5 separate regions of the Homo sapiens genome follow, and all the other regions are linked to region 1. The links are contacts of gene promoters, found by promoter capture Hi-C in blood cells and fetal thymus (Javierre and others, 2016). All regions are on one chromosome and are shown on one strand. Each heading gives the region's core, a stretch centred on a gene start or on the middle of the fragment in contact. The rest is flanking DNA. Distances are from core to core; before and after follow the strand shown.

What was found. Contacts are between HindIII fragments. The CHiCAGO score rates a contact against its expected background, and 5 or more counts as called.
Region 2: a contact is called between the fragment with the promoter of SIAH1 here and the fragment with the promoter of ITFG1 in region 1, in 2 of 17 cell types (neutrophils and monocytes). The highest score is 5.3, in neutrophils.
Region 3: a fragment that was not itself captured here is called in contact with the fragment with the promoter of ITFG1 in region 1 in 1 of 17 cell types (endothelial precursors); the score reaches 6.0 in endothelial precursors.
Region 4: a contact is called between a fragment that was not itself captured here and the fragment with the promoter of ITFG1 in region 1, in 1 of 17 cell types (neutrophils). The highest score is 6.0, in neutrophils.
Region 5: a fragment that was not itself captured here is called in contact with the fragment with the promoter of ITFG1 in region 1 in 1 of 17 cell types (neutrophils); the score reaches 8.1 in neutrophils.

What each region holds. Positions count from the first base shown.
Region 1 is chr16:47,459,623-47,462,322 of GRCh38, forward strand. It overlaps ITFG1 (integrin alpha FG-GAP repeat containing 1), which reads right to left and starts at 1,441. Exons shown (of 18, transcript NM_030790.5): 1 at 1,216-1,441. The coding sequence starts at 1,423. It overlaps PHKB (phosphorylase kinase regulatory subunit beta), which reads left to right and starts at 1,709. Exons shown (of 31, transcript NM_000293.3): 1 at 1,709-1,804. The coding sequence starts at 1,729. RefSeq lists a silencer at 1,350-1,819. The HindIII fragment of the contact is 8,409 bases long and covers 1-2,700 here.
Region 2 is chr16:48,383,989-48,386,697 of GRCh38, forward strand. SIAH1 (siah E3 ubiquitin protein ligase 1) reads right to left here and starts at 1,425. Exons shown (of 2, transcript NM_003031.4): 1 at 1,216-1,425. RefSeq lists silencers at 504-773, 864-933, 1,034-1,853. The HindIII fragment of the contact is 2,947 bases long and covers 1-2,011 here.
Region 3 is chr16:48,049,843-48,052,650 of GRCh38, forward strand. No RefSeq gene overlaps it. Among named protein-coding and RNA genes, the nearest start is that of LINC02134, 86 kb to the left of the region's middle. The HindIII fragment of the contact is 3,168 bases long and covers 1-2,808 here.
Region 4 is chr16:46,694,634-46,697,333 of GRCh38, forward strand. It overlaps ORC6 (origin recognition complex subunit 6), which reads left to right. Exons shown (of 7, transcript NM_014321.4): 5 at 929-1,041; 6 at 1,384-1,452. Among named protein-coding and RNA genes, the nearest start is that of ORC6, 6.3 kb to the left of the region's middle. The HindIII fragment of the contact is 5,773 bases long and covers 1-2,700 here.
Region 5 is chr16:48,177,644-48,180,467 of GRCh38, forward strand. ABCC11 (ATP binding cassette subfamily C member 11) reads right to left here. Exons shown (of 30, transcript NM_001370497.1): 24 at 954-1,043. Among named protein-coding and RNA genes, the nearest start is that of ABCC12, 23 kb to the left of the region's middle. The HindIII fragment of the contact is 1,905 bases long and covers 571-2,475 here.

The DNA.
Region 1 (2,700 bases), core at 191-2,690:
CATAATTAAGCATGTGAGCACAAAATGCTGAATCCTCCAAGACCCTCCTCCTATGGGGCCATCCTCCAGAGGGTGACACATTCTTGGAGCTCAATTAGCACTCATTGAGACAGACTTTTGGAATTGTTTAATCAAACACAGGCCATCTTTAAAGTCAAGGCTACTCTCTGTATCCAGTTTGGACACAGCAGCAACAGGTTTGGCAGTACACTGCAAAATGAGGAGTCAAAAAGATTGGGAAAATATTCAGGGTTTGTAAGAGGTTCCTGCATCCCCGCAAGGGCTCCAAGAAGTCTGGTTCAGGATCCTGTCAGGCAAGCTCTGAGTAGCTCTTCCTTCCTTCCTTCACAGCATTGATCTTTAAGCAGCACCTGCTTCTGTAGGTACTCAAGAACCCTAAGACCCCCTAATGCCCACTGTCAGCATCAAGATTTACAAAAAAGTTAGTTTAACGATTGTCAAAGCAAAGAATTTCCAAGAACAAGTTAGCAAAGAAAGTAGACATTTGGAACACTAAGGTGATGACCAAGATGAGGAAGGAGTACACGAAAGAACAGGCAGCTCAAGAGAGAAATTTCTGTAGTTTGAGACTGCTTTCCCAAGGAGGCATTGGGTTTATCAGTGGTCCCTGCAAAATGCTTGTGTGAGCTGTTTAGTGTTTAGGCCCTTGGAAGGGTACATTCGCTTCATAGAAAGTTGTGGCCTTGACAAAGAAAGGGGTGGGCGAATTAGGTAGGTGGGGAGGCAAGAAGAAGCCCCCTATGAGAAGAGATTGTCAGGTTGCACCTTTTCATGTTCATCAACGGGGAAGGAAGACTGAAGCAAAATAGAAAGGAATGAGTGGGCCTTGGGAGCGAACGTTGAGGCAAGCTACAAAGATTCCTAGGAATCAGGAAGCACTTTGGAAAACAGGTGATTCCATGGGGAGGAGGGGGTAAGGTGACTGGGTGAGGGCCGCAGACTTCTTAGGAACAAAACTGAGGTGCTGTCAGGGCTTTTGAGGGTAGGTCAAACTGTAGGGTAGCTGGGTCAGAACCTGGGGTTGGAAAGGGTGGTGCAAAAGGACAAGCTGTTAAGAATGCTAAAGGGAAGGCCACAGGGCTGGGAGAGAAGGACCAGGAAATGCAGAAGGACCGGCCATTGGGCAATGGGTTTGGGGAACACCGGGAGAGGCACACGGACAGCGAACAGAGGGAGGGCCCGGCAAGCACTGACTTTCCCGCAGCACGAAGAGATCCGTCTGCTTGTCGGAGTTGAGGTCCCCGAAAGCCGCAAGGGTGCCCCAGGCCTCGGCCCCAAAGAGCTCGGCCGTGACGTTGTGCAGCGCCCGCGCTGGGACCGGCCCGACTCCCAGTAGTGCAAGCCCTGCGAGGAGCGGCGAGAAGAGGGCCCAGGAGCTCGGGAGCCGGCCCGCCGCCGCCATGGCAGCCCCTCAGCCCCCGCCCGCCGGCCCAACGCCGCGCTTGACGACAGCCGCAAAGCACCGCGTTACCGGCCGAGAGAGTGGCGCGCAGCCCCGGGACGCGTAAGAGCCGCTGCCGGCTCCTTTTTCTCTCTCCCACTAGGGCTGCCCTTCCGACGCTAAAAAAGCAGTGGAGCTAGGGTGAAAGCCGCCCTCACGCTCACTTCCGGCAGGCGCGCCTCCCGACAGTGTCGTGCGGGGGGCGTGGCCCGGCATTGCTGACAGGCGGCCCCGGGGGCGGTGGCCAAGGCGGCGACCGGAGCGCGATGGCGGGGGCGGCGGGACTCACGGCAGAAGTGAGCTGGAAGGTCTTGGAGCGAAGAGCTCGGACCAAGCGCTCAGGTTTGGCTGGCTGGGGCGCCGCCCCCCACCCGAGTACCTTGGGTGGTGCTTCGCCTCAAGCGCCTTGGCGGGAGGCAGGTGGGGGCCCTGGGAATGAACCTGTGCCCCGAGTTCCTCCTTAGAAAGCAGGTGGCGGCCCTGGCCTTGTTTCTAATATCTTCCTCCACCTCTAAAAATTAGGTGGCAGAGCCAGCTCCACTCTGCGTGTGCCCCCGACTCTATTCCGCTTGTGAGCCCCACTCGGAAAGTAGGCAGCGGTCCGGACTTCCCTTAGAGTCTTCTAACTTAAAAATCGGGCGGCGGCACATTCCTGGGAAAGGGAATGTGTCTTCCCTGTGAATGTGTCTTTCCTGTGAATGTTCTCTGCAAAAGTCAGATAGCTTAATCAGACCAAGTCAGATGTAACTACGATCTGGCTGCAGAAAGCCGGCGTCTGGGCTCCTTGCTTTATGTCTTATATCCCTTTTACATTCCCCACAGGTTCTAAGCAGTAGACCTGTCATCTATCTAGCAGAAACTGAAGGAGACTGGGCCTCAGATATTGAAGAGTATAGTTAGGGCCCAGAAAGAAAAGGGCTTCTTAAGTGGCCCCAGGTTGTGTGGTTTCCAAACCCGAAAGCATAGAGGTCAGAAGGTGCCTTGCAGGCAGTTTTAACAGTTCCAAGTGTCCCGAACTGACTTGTTCAAATTGCAACGTCATGACTTGTGGCGTTATTAAAACTTCCTGTATTCCTGGTTGGCTGGATATAATCTTGAACAAAAGGCATGCACTTAAACAGGAAAGGTGAAAGGCGGAATGCAGGTTTTCAGCTAAGGAGCTTCCCTTTTAAAGAATTGATGAAGTGTCATTATTGGGGGTGGGTGTGAAAGGTGTTAGCTAGGAAAATTAACTTTGC
Region 2 (2,709 bases), core at 175-2,674, 920 kb after region 1:
GCTTGAGGTAGATACTGTCGTTACACCCATTTTGCAGATAAGGAAAGCGAAGCACAGAGAAGTATCTGCCCAAGGTCACAAACCAGTGGAGCAGGATTTGACCCAAAGCAGACAGTCGGACTTCACAGCCCGTGCTCTCAACATCCAACTGCTGAAGAGTTAACAATTTACCCTTGACAGCCGCTATAAGCAAAGGTAAATGCTCAACTGCTAGGAAGGGACAGTCAGAACACCGTCCCATATCCAGTATCCATGTCTCTCTGTTTGTTTATGGCCTCTATGACTTTGGCAAAAGAAGTACACACAATCTGATTTTCCGAACACCCAAGCTGGACTTTTCTGAATGTCCGAGCAAACAAATTATGTATCTTTCCAGGAACGGGCAGACAGCGAAAACGAACCTACGCATCGGAGTGGCCCAGGTTATTCACTTTAAGTTATAAATTTGGGAGAGTTAAGAAAGGACCCCAAACTACCCGGCAAATGAACCCTAGGAAATGCCAGGTTTATAATAAGCTAGAGCTTCCCCGGCACGCCGTTCACGCGCTCTCCTCTCTAACGACATAAACAAGGGAGGAGGCTGCATTCTTCCCACTGCACAATGAAGCCTCCGGCCGAAGCGGCAGGAAGAGCGCAGCCCCGTCCCGGACGGCTCCAGCCGGGGGTCGGGGGCAGAGAGCGGAGGCCGAGGCCCGCCGAGCGGCGCGGTGCGGCCCGGGCCTCCGGGCGCCGCGGGGAGGAGGGGGAGGGAGGGCAGGGCCCCGGCAGCTGCCCGCACTCAGCTGACCTCCGCCATGTTGGCCGCACACCCCGGGACCCTCCACAACAAAGGCCGGCACGAGGGCGCGGGGCGCGCCGGGCGCCACCCCCGGCCGGGCCCGCCTCCCGGGCGCGCGGGGGCCGGGCCGCCGCCGAGGCCCTTCCCCCGCCCTCGGCCCGGCCGCGCGGGGCCGACCCCCGCCGCCACCCCGCCGGGCCCGGGGCTCCAGGGGCGGGGGCGAGCCGGCTTGCGAAGGCTGAAGGCAGGGGAGGGGCGGGGGGCGGCGCTCGACCGGGCGGCCCGACTCCGGCCGAGACAAAGGCGCCGCCGCGCCGACTACTGCCCGCGCCCCGGCCGGGCCGCCCTTCCCGCCCTCCGCCATTACCGGGCCTGGGCGCCCGCCTGTCGGAGAGCCCCTCGCCGCCGGCTCCTCCCTCAGGCCGGGCCCCACTTACCTGTGGGCGGAGAGCGCGCCTCGGACCCCGGTCCTGGCACCAACGCGCTCCGTCGCCAACCCCCGCCACCGCGGGCAGCGCCACCGCCTCTTCCCGGCGCCGAGACCGACGGGACACCCTGGGCCGCCGCCGCCTCTCGAGAGCGCGCCCCGCAACGGCCGCCCCGGCTCCCCCCTGGCCGCCGCCGCCGCCGCCGTTTCGCGCGTCCTCGAGCCCGCCGCGCGCCCCCGCTAAATACCACACACTGCGGCGGCGGCCATGAGGAGGCGCGGCCCCGCGCGCTGGGAGCCTGGGGGGGCGGGGCTTTCGCGGGCGCGCAGGCGCACAGGCGTTGGCGCGGCCGGCGGCGGCCTCCGCGGGCGTAGCTGTGCGGGTCTCCAAAGGCGGCAGTAGGTGCGGGGGCTACTCGGCTACCGTTGCTGCGCCCGTGCACCGCGCATTCAACGGATCCTGGCACGTGGCGCTCTGGCCCGCGAGAAGCTAGCGCTTGCCCGTCGGCTCAGGGCAGCTCCTCCCGCGGCGCTTTGTTCCGGGGCCGCGTGACCCCCCCGGCTCCGGCCGGAGGGGTCGCCCAGCGGGATGCGAGCCCCAGGCTGGCCGCCGCCGCGGCCTTGTGCCCTCCCCCTTGTTTTGTCTGCTGATTTAGCCCAGCGCCTCCACGGATCCTTCCCAACTCCACTCAGTCCCAAAGAAAAAGCGGCTGCCCTGCCCGCCGACCGGGACCCCACCCCTAAAGAGAGTCCCAGCCTCTCCCGAGGTTGAGCCGCTCCTCAGCAACAGCGGGACGAGCTTCAAAAGCTTGTTTCAGCTGAAAAGTGGGTAATGGGGAAGCACGCGTTTTCCTGTGTCCATGCTCATCTGGAAAGTCCCTAATTAGGGACTCTGCATTCCACTTCTTGAAATAATAAAAGGAAAACATCACTTGCAATTCTTTGATGGGTGCTATGAGCAGAAGCAAGCATCTGAGACATTTACAAGCCCTAACTGGAATTCCATGTAAGATCTATTAAAATGGTATTCCGTCCGGACGCGGTGGCTCACGCCTGTAATCCCAGCACTTAGGGAGGCCGAGGCCGATGGATTACCTGAGGTCAGGAGTTCGAGAGTAGCCTGGCCAACATGGTGAAACCCTATCTCTACTAAAAATACAAAAATTAGCCGGGCGTGGTGGTGCACGCCTGTAGTCCCAGCTACTCGGAGGCTGAGGCAGGAGAATCGCTTGAACCCGGGAGGCAGAGGTTGCAGTGAGGCAGAGATCAGGCCATTGCACTCCAGCCTGGACAACAGAGCGAGACTCTGTCTCAAAAAAATAAAAATAAAAATAGAAAAATCCCATACCGGGCACGTATGTACAAATTCCCAGTGTATGATAAAGTTTATATGTGCAAAACACTAGTTTACAGTATTCCTAATTACATGATTTAAACTGCAATTTTACTTTCACATTTTTGGGGAGAAGTTATAGCTCCTCAGTACACGGGAAGGTCAATAGAG
Region 3 (2,808 bases), core at 16-2,515, 590 kb after region 1:
AGCTGACCATCAGGTGATGGTCGGGTAGTTATTAAATGGTCTCTCTAAAATAATCATTAGTCACAGCCAGCATCAGGGAAAGGCAGTCTCCCAATAGATAGAAAACACCTGAAACTGATGATCAGCAACTTCCTGATAAGATCTTAGGAGTTGGGCGAGTGGACTCAAGCATGCGCATTAACAGGCAGATGGTGGAGATTACCCAGTATATGACCTTCCTCTAGGAACACTCATCTGGTAAGGGAAGGATGCCTCAAGTGAGCATGTACACTTCAGTAAACATACTGTGCATGTGGCCCCTCCCAAGTGCTGGCAGGCCACTGTGCATGTGGACAGCCCACTCCAAGGGAAGAATCAGAGGACAAGAGCTGCAAGACCCCCAAAGCATGCCAGTGTATGAAACCCCAAGTCAAAGGTCAAACCGCACACTTGATCTCTCAAGTCACCCGCTTGGCCCTCTTCCAAGTGTACTTTACTTCCTTTAATTCCTGCTCTAAATCTTTTTAAATAAACTTTCATGTCTGCTCTAAAACTTGCCTCAGTCCCTCACTCTGCCTTATGCCCCTCAGACAAATTCTTTCCTCTGAGGAGACAAGAACCGAGTTGCTGCAGACCTGTATTCACTACTGCTAATACTCTTACAGCAGAAGAAACGGAACATGGTTGCTCATTGTGGAAGTTGGTGGTAAGTGAAAGAGTCTAGTAGAAACCAAAAAGTTTTTATTTTACTTTATTCATTCGCTCCTTCTTAAGAAGGCTGCTTGCAAAACAGAGATGAGAAAGCACAATGGGTAGGGCCACAGCAAGAGAAGAAGCAAACCCTTCCCTCTGTTACTGGTGGAGGGTGTCCAGGTTCTTGGCATACTGAATTGGACAAAACGTACAAACAAAGCAAAGAAGGAATGAAGGGATTTATTGACAATGAAAGTACACTCCACAGTGTGGGAGCGGGTCTGAGCATAGGGGCTCAAAGGCTCTGTTACAGAATGTTTGAGAGTTTAGATACCCTCGACTTGGGGTATGCCCTATGTAAATGAAGAGGATGAAGTAAAGTTACAAAGTCATTCACTTACTGTATGCTCTATGGAGAGGATATTTCCTGTTATAGCTGAAGTGTGGGGTTGGGGGGATAGAAGCTGTCCTCCTGCATGCTGAATTGCTTCTGGGTGGGGTCACAGGAGTGGGATCGGTGGGTCGGCTTGGAGCCATAGGTGTCAGACATTCAAAAAATCTGACAAGCTATCTCAAAAGGCCAATCTACAATAGTGGTGTTATCTGCAGGAATGGCTGGCAATCTATGTCTGCACCTTAGCAGAATCAGGCTCCTTTCCACCCCCATAGCCCCATGGCCTTTCATTAGCTTTATAGAGGGAGTCAAGTTTGGGGGAAGGGCTATTATCATTTAAACTATAACCTAAATGTCTTCCAAAGTTAGCTAGCCCAAAAGCCCAGCAATAATTAAGGGAAAGGCAAGATGGAGGGTGAGTTAGATCATATCTCTTTTACTGCCATAATTTTCTTACTGTTATAATTCTTGCAAAGGTGGTTTCCATCTGAGTGGGCCAGAATGCTGCAGGTCAAGATGCTCGCTTATGGGTTCCTCTGTTTTCAGTCTTTTCTTTTTAGAATGGAATCTGCATCCTTGCTCATGTCACTGCTGAATCTCCAGGGCCGAGGGATGTCCCTGACATGGGGGGCTTGGTAACTGGTGGAAAGGAAGGACAGAGGGGCCGAGGAGTGCAATGTGGCAGCATTTCTTGTTCCTTCCTTTCAGCATCAGGAATAAAATGTGGAACACAAGGGACCTTAGTGATGCACTCCAAGGGCCTCATTTCATGATGAAGATGGCCACCCCACTCACCATAGATAGTTAGTTGGAGATAGAGATGGCGTTCACACTTGAGACACCCAGGTGATTCTATCCAGACCACAAAAGTAAAAGTTCCCTCAATTACTCATTTTTTCAGGCAACTTTGGAAATATAGGGTCCTGTTTGAGTGCCAGACTTTAAGGGGGACTTATTCAAATATCCATTCAAAATTATTCAGTTAAATATGTTTTTGAATGAAATAATATTAAAGAATTATTTTTGACAACATGGATGAGCTGAAGGACAATGACAAAGGGGTCTGGAAGCCATGTCATTCCAAGAACTGGCTGAAACACCTGAAGTCAGGAGAACGGAGAGAATGGGCCACTGTGCAGGGGTCCTCACACATGTATCTCTCCTCCCCATGGACACATAACACACAGTGAGCACCCCACACACATTTGTTGAGTGTGTTAATTGCTTTGCTTGGAGAAGAGAGGGCTGACAATACACACTGCTTCAGAAAGCTCTGTGACAGCTGATGAGAAGGAAAGTTTTGGAGAGTTGGCTGTCTTTCAGGGGAAGTGAAAGGGATCGGTCAGAGCTGAAGGACAAGAGCACTTCTCATTCTTGATTATGCTCTTGAATTATTTGGAGATCTGGTTGAAAGGCAGATTCTGATTCAATAGGTCTGCAGTGAAGCTGAGATTCTGCATTACCAATGGGCTTGCAGGCAGTGTGGATGCTGCTGTTCATGGACCACCCTTTCACGTCAATAATCATTTCGGATTGCTTCCATTTCTAAGAGTCCCTAAGTGCTGAGCCTTCCATAAAAAAGACAAGGTTGAGAAATCTGGTAGGGTGTGATTTCCAGATGTAGGAGAGTGAAAATGGCTCCCTTCACCCCTCTATGTTCCTTGGCTGGGCTGCTAATTAAATTGACATAAGACAGATTAACAAGACAAAAACTATATTCAATTACATATGATGCACAGAGT
Region 4 (2,700 bases), core at 12-2,511, 770 kb before region 1:
GGGGGCTGACCCCCCCACAACACTGTCTCTTAAAAAAAAAACAAAACACTGGCTACAACTGTTCTTCAAGGAATTTATAACATTTTAGTGATAAATTATCACATCTGAATCTTACAATTGTGGGTTATCTATGTGTATGCTGAAATGTTACCTTGGAAATATTAGTAATTGTTGATAATCTTTGTCTAAAGTTATCTTATTTTTATCTTGCCAGAAAACTCCTTAGAAAACAAAATGTAGTTGGCCCTTAAAGAATGGATTTCTCACTACCTACCCACTAATTTTGGTATGCTTGGCTCTATTAGGTACATACCTAGGAGTATTAATTGGCATTTATGGAAAACATCTCTTCAATTCAACAAAAGTATGTGCATATACGGAGGGAGTGCAGCTGATATTGTAGAAAACAGTGAGAATAGTCAACTCTACTTTTGAAACCATATTACGCTGAGTAAGAAAAGGTCTTGACAGGTCTATTCTGAAGAAAAAGTTTATTTTGTGTTTGTAATTAGTGGTTGCTGTGGAGTCTTATTAGGAAAGTTTATTTTCAGGGTGGGGTGGGGTTGTTACATTCCTGTAATATAAATATCCTGTGAGTTAAAATGAGTGGAACAAAAAAGTCCTATGATTGTCATTCATTAAATTAATCTGAGATTTACTAAAGAGTTCTAAAAGTCATGAAGCACTACAGCAAATGTCTTTTATGTGCCCCTTTTGTTATAAAATAGATCCCATGTGCATTTTAACTCTCAGTCCAATAAACAACTAAACAACTTAGCATAGATAATAACATGTTTGGAATGAAGGAAAAAAACTAGACAGAGGCTCTGGAAGCATGGTCAAAAAGAAAATAAGTTGATTATCTGGTTGCCCAGAGAAGAAAACTGTACAGGTCTTGAGAAAAGCAACTTATGAAATTGTTTTGTAGGATTCTAAAGCTGAAAGTGGATAAAAACAAAATGGTAGCCACATCCGGTGTAAAAAAAGCTATATTTGATCGACTGTGTAAACAACTAGAGAAGATTGGACAGCAGGTCGACAGTAAGTATTCTGTAGTTCAAGAATGCGTCATTTGAAAATGTAGTCCTTTTGCTTGTAAAAGTCAAATATTTTCAAATATGTAAACTGGCTGCTTCCTAAATTCCGTATTACATGTGGACCAGGTATGTTTTTATTGATGTTTCTAACCTATGATTCCATGAATCTATGCCTGGAAAATGATTCTCAAGTCTGACAAGAGGCCCAAAAGAGAGGTCTAAGATCATTTCTCTTCTCCTCATATTTGATCAGTTAAGATGTCTAATTTTATTTGTGATCCAAAACATGCCCAAATACTGAAATTGAGAACAGGAGAAAAATTAACCTTGATAACACTTCTTAAAGGAGAACCTGGAGATGTAGCTACTCCACCACGGAAGAGAAAGAAGATAGTGGTTGAAGCCCCAGCAAAGGGTAAGTTTTACTAACACGGTACTGACGTTGACATTTTATGCAGTGAACAGCCCAGTGCTGCTCTAGCAGCTTGCCTGACAGGAGTCCAGTTTTAAGTACATTCTGACTGTGAATCATTTGATAAGACCAGTTTTCCAAGCAATCAGTAATGGAAGTAACATCGTTATTGGGTAATTAAGAATATGGCTGGTCTGGCACAGTGGCTTATTCCTGTAATCCCAGCACTTTGGGAGGCTGAGGCGGGAGGATTGCTTGAGCCCATGAGTGCGAGACCAGCCTGGGCAGCTACAGCTAGGTATTTGTCTTAAACCTGGGCATGGTCTGATGGGAAGTCCCTAGTTGTATAACAAGTCAGCTGGTTGGCTGTTTGTGATTGGCTGGGGATTATTTTTGTCTTTCGGAGGTTCTTTTCCCCCGACAAAAGAAATGTTTCCAAGTTAGGTTCCAGTTTGCTTATAAGAGCTTTAGCTACAAAGACAATCTCAGGCAAATGGCTGCATTATTGTTTTAATACCACCTACTGGCTATGTGATTTTTTGGTTTTTTTGTTTGTTTGTTTGATTTTGGTTTTTTGGTTTCTCTTTTTCTGAGACATGGCCTGGTTCTCTCACCCATGCTAGAGTGCAGTGGCACGGTCTCGGCTCACTGCAGCCTCCGCCTCCTGAGCTCAAACCATCCTCCCACCTCAGCCTCCCGAGTAGCTGGGACTACAGGCATGTGCTACCACACCTGGCTAATTTTTGTATTTTTGATAGAGATGGGACCTCACTATGTTACCCAGGCTGGTCTTGAACTCCTGGGCTCAAGTGACCCGCCCCCTTCACCTCCCAAAGTGCTGGGATTACAGGCATGAGCCACTATGCCCAACCACTGGCTATGGGATTCTAAGAAAGTATAATTTCTGTGAGCCTCAATTTCCTGACCTATAAAATGTGATTAATATTATCACCTATTACGGAGTGTAGTAGGGGTTAAATGAAATAATGCTATTTAAAGTACTTGGTTCAGTGCCTATCAAGCACCAGTTAAGTGCTTGATAGACGTTAGCTATTATTAGATGTCTTGGAATGCTTGGAGTGTAAGGGAGGGAAAAAAGTGATAGCTAAGCTAGGTGTGATAGTGTGAGCCTATAGTCCCAGCCACGGTCCCAGCTACTCAAGAGGTGGAGGTGGGAGGATCATTTGAACCTAGGAATTTGAGTGCAGCCTGAGCAACATTACAAGACCCCATCTCAAAAAAAAGTGATAA
Region 5 (2,824 bases), core at 273-2,772, 720 kb after region 1:
GCCGAGCCCACTCTGCATCAAGTGCAGTTGTGTGTGTTGAGAGGAAAGAACGCTGGAGAAGAAGTTGGATCTGACCACCTGGCTGCAAGCCACAACTCCCCATGCTGGTGCCGTGTCACAGCAGCATCCCTGGGCAGGAAATCAGAGCCCTACAATTCATAAATTCCACTCATGCAAGGGGGCAGGAGACCTGGTTTGTAGAGGGCTCTGCCAGCCCCAGCCTGTGTGATCTTAAGCAAAAGTTCTGCCTGGCCCAACCTCGGTTTCCTTGTCTGAAAAATGTGGATAATCATTCAATCAACCTAATAAAATTGTTCCATGATCCCATGAGATAGTCTAGATAAAGGGCTTAGCACCATGCCTGGCCCACAGAAAGGTCTCAATCACAATAATAAAGAACATGATGGAGCCTCACTATGGGTCAGGCAGTGTGCTATGTGCTTTACATGTTATATCATTTCAACTTTGTGATAATCTGGCAAAGGGACGCTATTGTCTTTCTCATTTCAGAGATGGGGAAAAGAGAGTTTGAATAAGTTGCCCAGGTTATTCCAATGATTCAAATGGTAAAGCTTAGACTTGAACCCAGGAAATCTGGCTACAGAATCTGTGCTCTTAACCACCATGACATAAATGGAAGCAATAATAGGAACAAAGATTGTTGTCATCATTATTATTGCACTGGGCAAACCTCTCATTTCCAAGAGGAGAAGATGATCTCCTCTTCCCCCTAGGAATGCTGTGAGGGATGTGGTCAAAGTGAGCAGACAGGTATGGAAGAGCTTCAGCGAGATGGTCAACAAAAGTCTGGGGAAGACAGGGAGGAAAGGCCAGGAGCCTGGTGTTTCCTGGGATGGTCTCAGGGCTCTGAGGCCAGTGGGGCTTGTAGAGGTCACAGAAGTCATGCCCCAACTTGCATGGCTCCCCACACCAGACCCAGACCTGAACCCCACCTTCATGTACTGCAGTATCCTCTCTACAGCCGTGAACTGTGCCTCTGTCTCCAAGCCAATCCGGGCAGTGGCCTGGAAGCTGGACGCCAGCTAGAAGGAAGGAGAAGTATCGGGGGTCAAGAGGCTGCTGGGGTGTGCTCAGGCTCTTCAACGCTCCTGATAACCACTGATTGCCATTGCCCCTGAGTGACCCCTGAAACTAAGATAATTTTCCTAGCAAGAATGGAGCAGAGGCCCCTGGTGCCTCCTCAGCCCACTTCTGAGTTTAGCTGCAGCTGCGATGGGCAATTCTGGGGGAGAACCTCCCCAGACACTGTTCCACCTCGAGTGCCCTCTGTATGTCTTTCTGCTCAAGACCTCTGCCCACATCACAGCAACCACCTAGCCTGTGCATGAGGACATCCCAGAAACCCAGGAGACTTAAGGTTACTGAGAATGAACTTTGACTGATGGGGAACAAGAGCTAGCAGAGATAAATGCTCCCATCTCCCAGCCTTTGAGGGCATGGTCCTGGAAATACCCCATATGCTTCTCAGGAGATCCCAGGACAGTTGAGCCCTAGTGACATAGAACAGGGACCCCAGTGTCACACTCCCATGATGACTTCCTCCTTCCTCATCTCACTTTTCTGCTCCCTCAATCCTGGTTCCTGGGAGCACTTCCCAAATAAGCTGCCTGCACCCAAGTTCCTTTCTCAGGTCCTGCCTTCAGGGAAACCCAGGCTAGAGGAGTTAGGGACTCTTGGGAATTGGGGGCACCAAAGATAAGGAAACTGAGGCGCCAAAAGAAGAAATTACATCCACAGAAACGTCTAGAAGCTGGAGGCAGAGCTGGGCTTGGGGCCCCGGTCTATAACCTCCATTACCCTGGCCCAAGAAATGGGCAAACAGGACGTGCAGGGGGTGCTGGGTAACACATTAATCATACATTCATTCAACAAACTCTGGTGGATGGCTCTGTGCCAGGTGCTGGACCAGGCTCCATGTCCCAAAGTGCAGCAGATGTAGGCCTGCCCTCGAGGAGATCCCAGCTGGATGGAAAGGCAGACAAGGCAACAAAGAATAAAGTGCAGAGGGGCGCACTCCACAATGGAGAAGCCCTGGAGTGCCACTGGGATGCACAGGAGGGGCCCTGGATGAGGGCACAGGGAAGGATTCCAAGAAGAGTCAGTCCTAGAGTGACATTTTTAAGGTGAAGTAAGATGCAGTGGACTAAAGATGGGTGGAGAAGTGTGTTCCAAACAGAACAGCCTATGTAAGCCCTGAAAGCAGCAAATTCTCAGAATACATCCAGGCACCCACAAGCCATTTGGCTATGGCTGAAACAAAAGGGTGTAGGAAGGAGGGGAAGCCCTCTGTAAGTCAGAGAAGGTGGGCACCATGATGAAATGGTGCTTAGTCTGAAAAAGAGGCCAGGGGCGGGTTGGAAGACCACTTTTCCTCCCATCCCTCAGTGTATCACACCCTGCGGGCTGCCTTGCCAGCATCATGTTCAGGTGTCTGGTGGTCTTATGCTTCAGGGAAGCTTGGTTAATCCAAACCAACCACATTAATTCTACTCCTCTTGCCAGAGCTTGGTTTAGGTGTGGGCTCATGATGCCATTCTGGCCGTTGAAGGATGAGAAGGCATCAGATGGGTGTATTCTTGAAAACTTCTCTTTGCTTTTAAAAAGGAACACATGGAAAAAGTTATCTCCTCTCCAGCCTTTGACTGTTATTGTGGGAGGATGTGACACTTGGGGCTGCAGCAGCCATTTTGTGACCATGAATACAGACAGACTTGCAGACAAAGCCAGGCTGTGGATGCCAGCACAGAAAGGTAGAACGATCAAGGGTTCATGCTAGGCCACTAAATGAGCCAACTGAGCATAG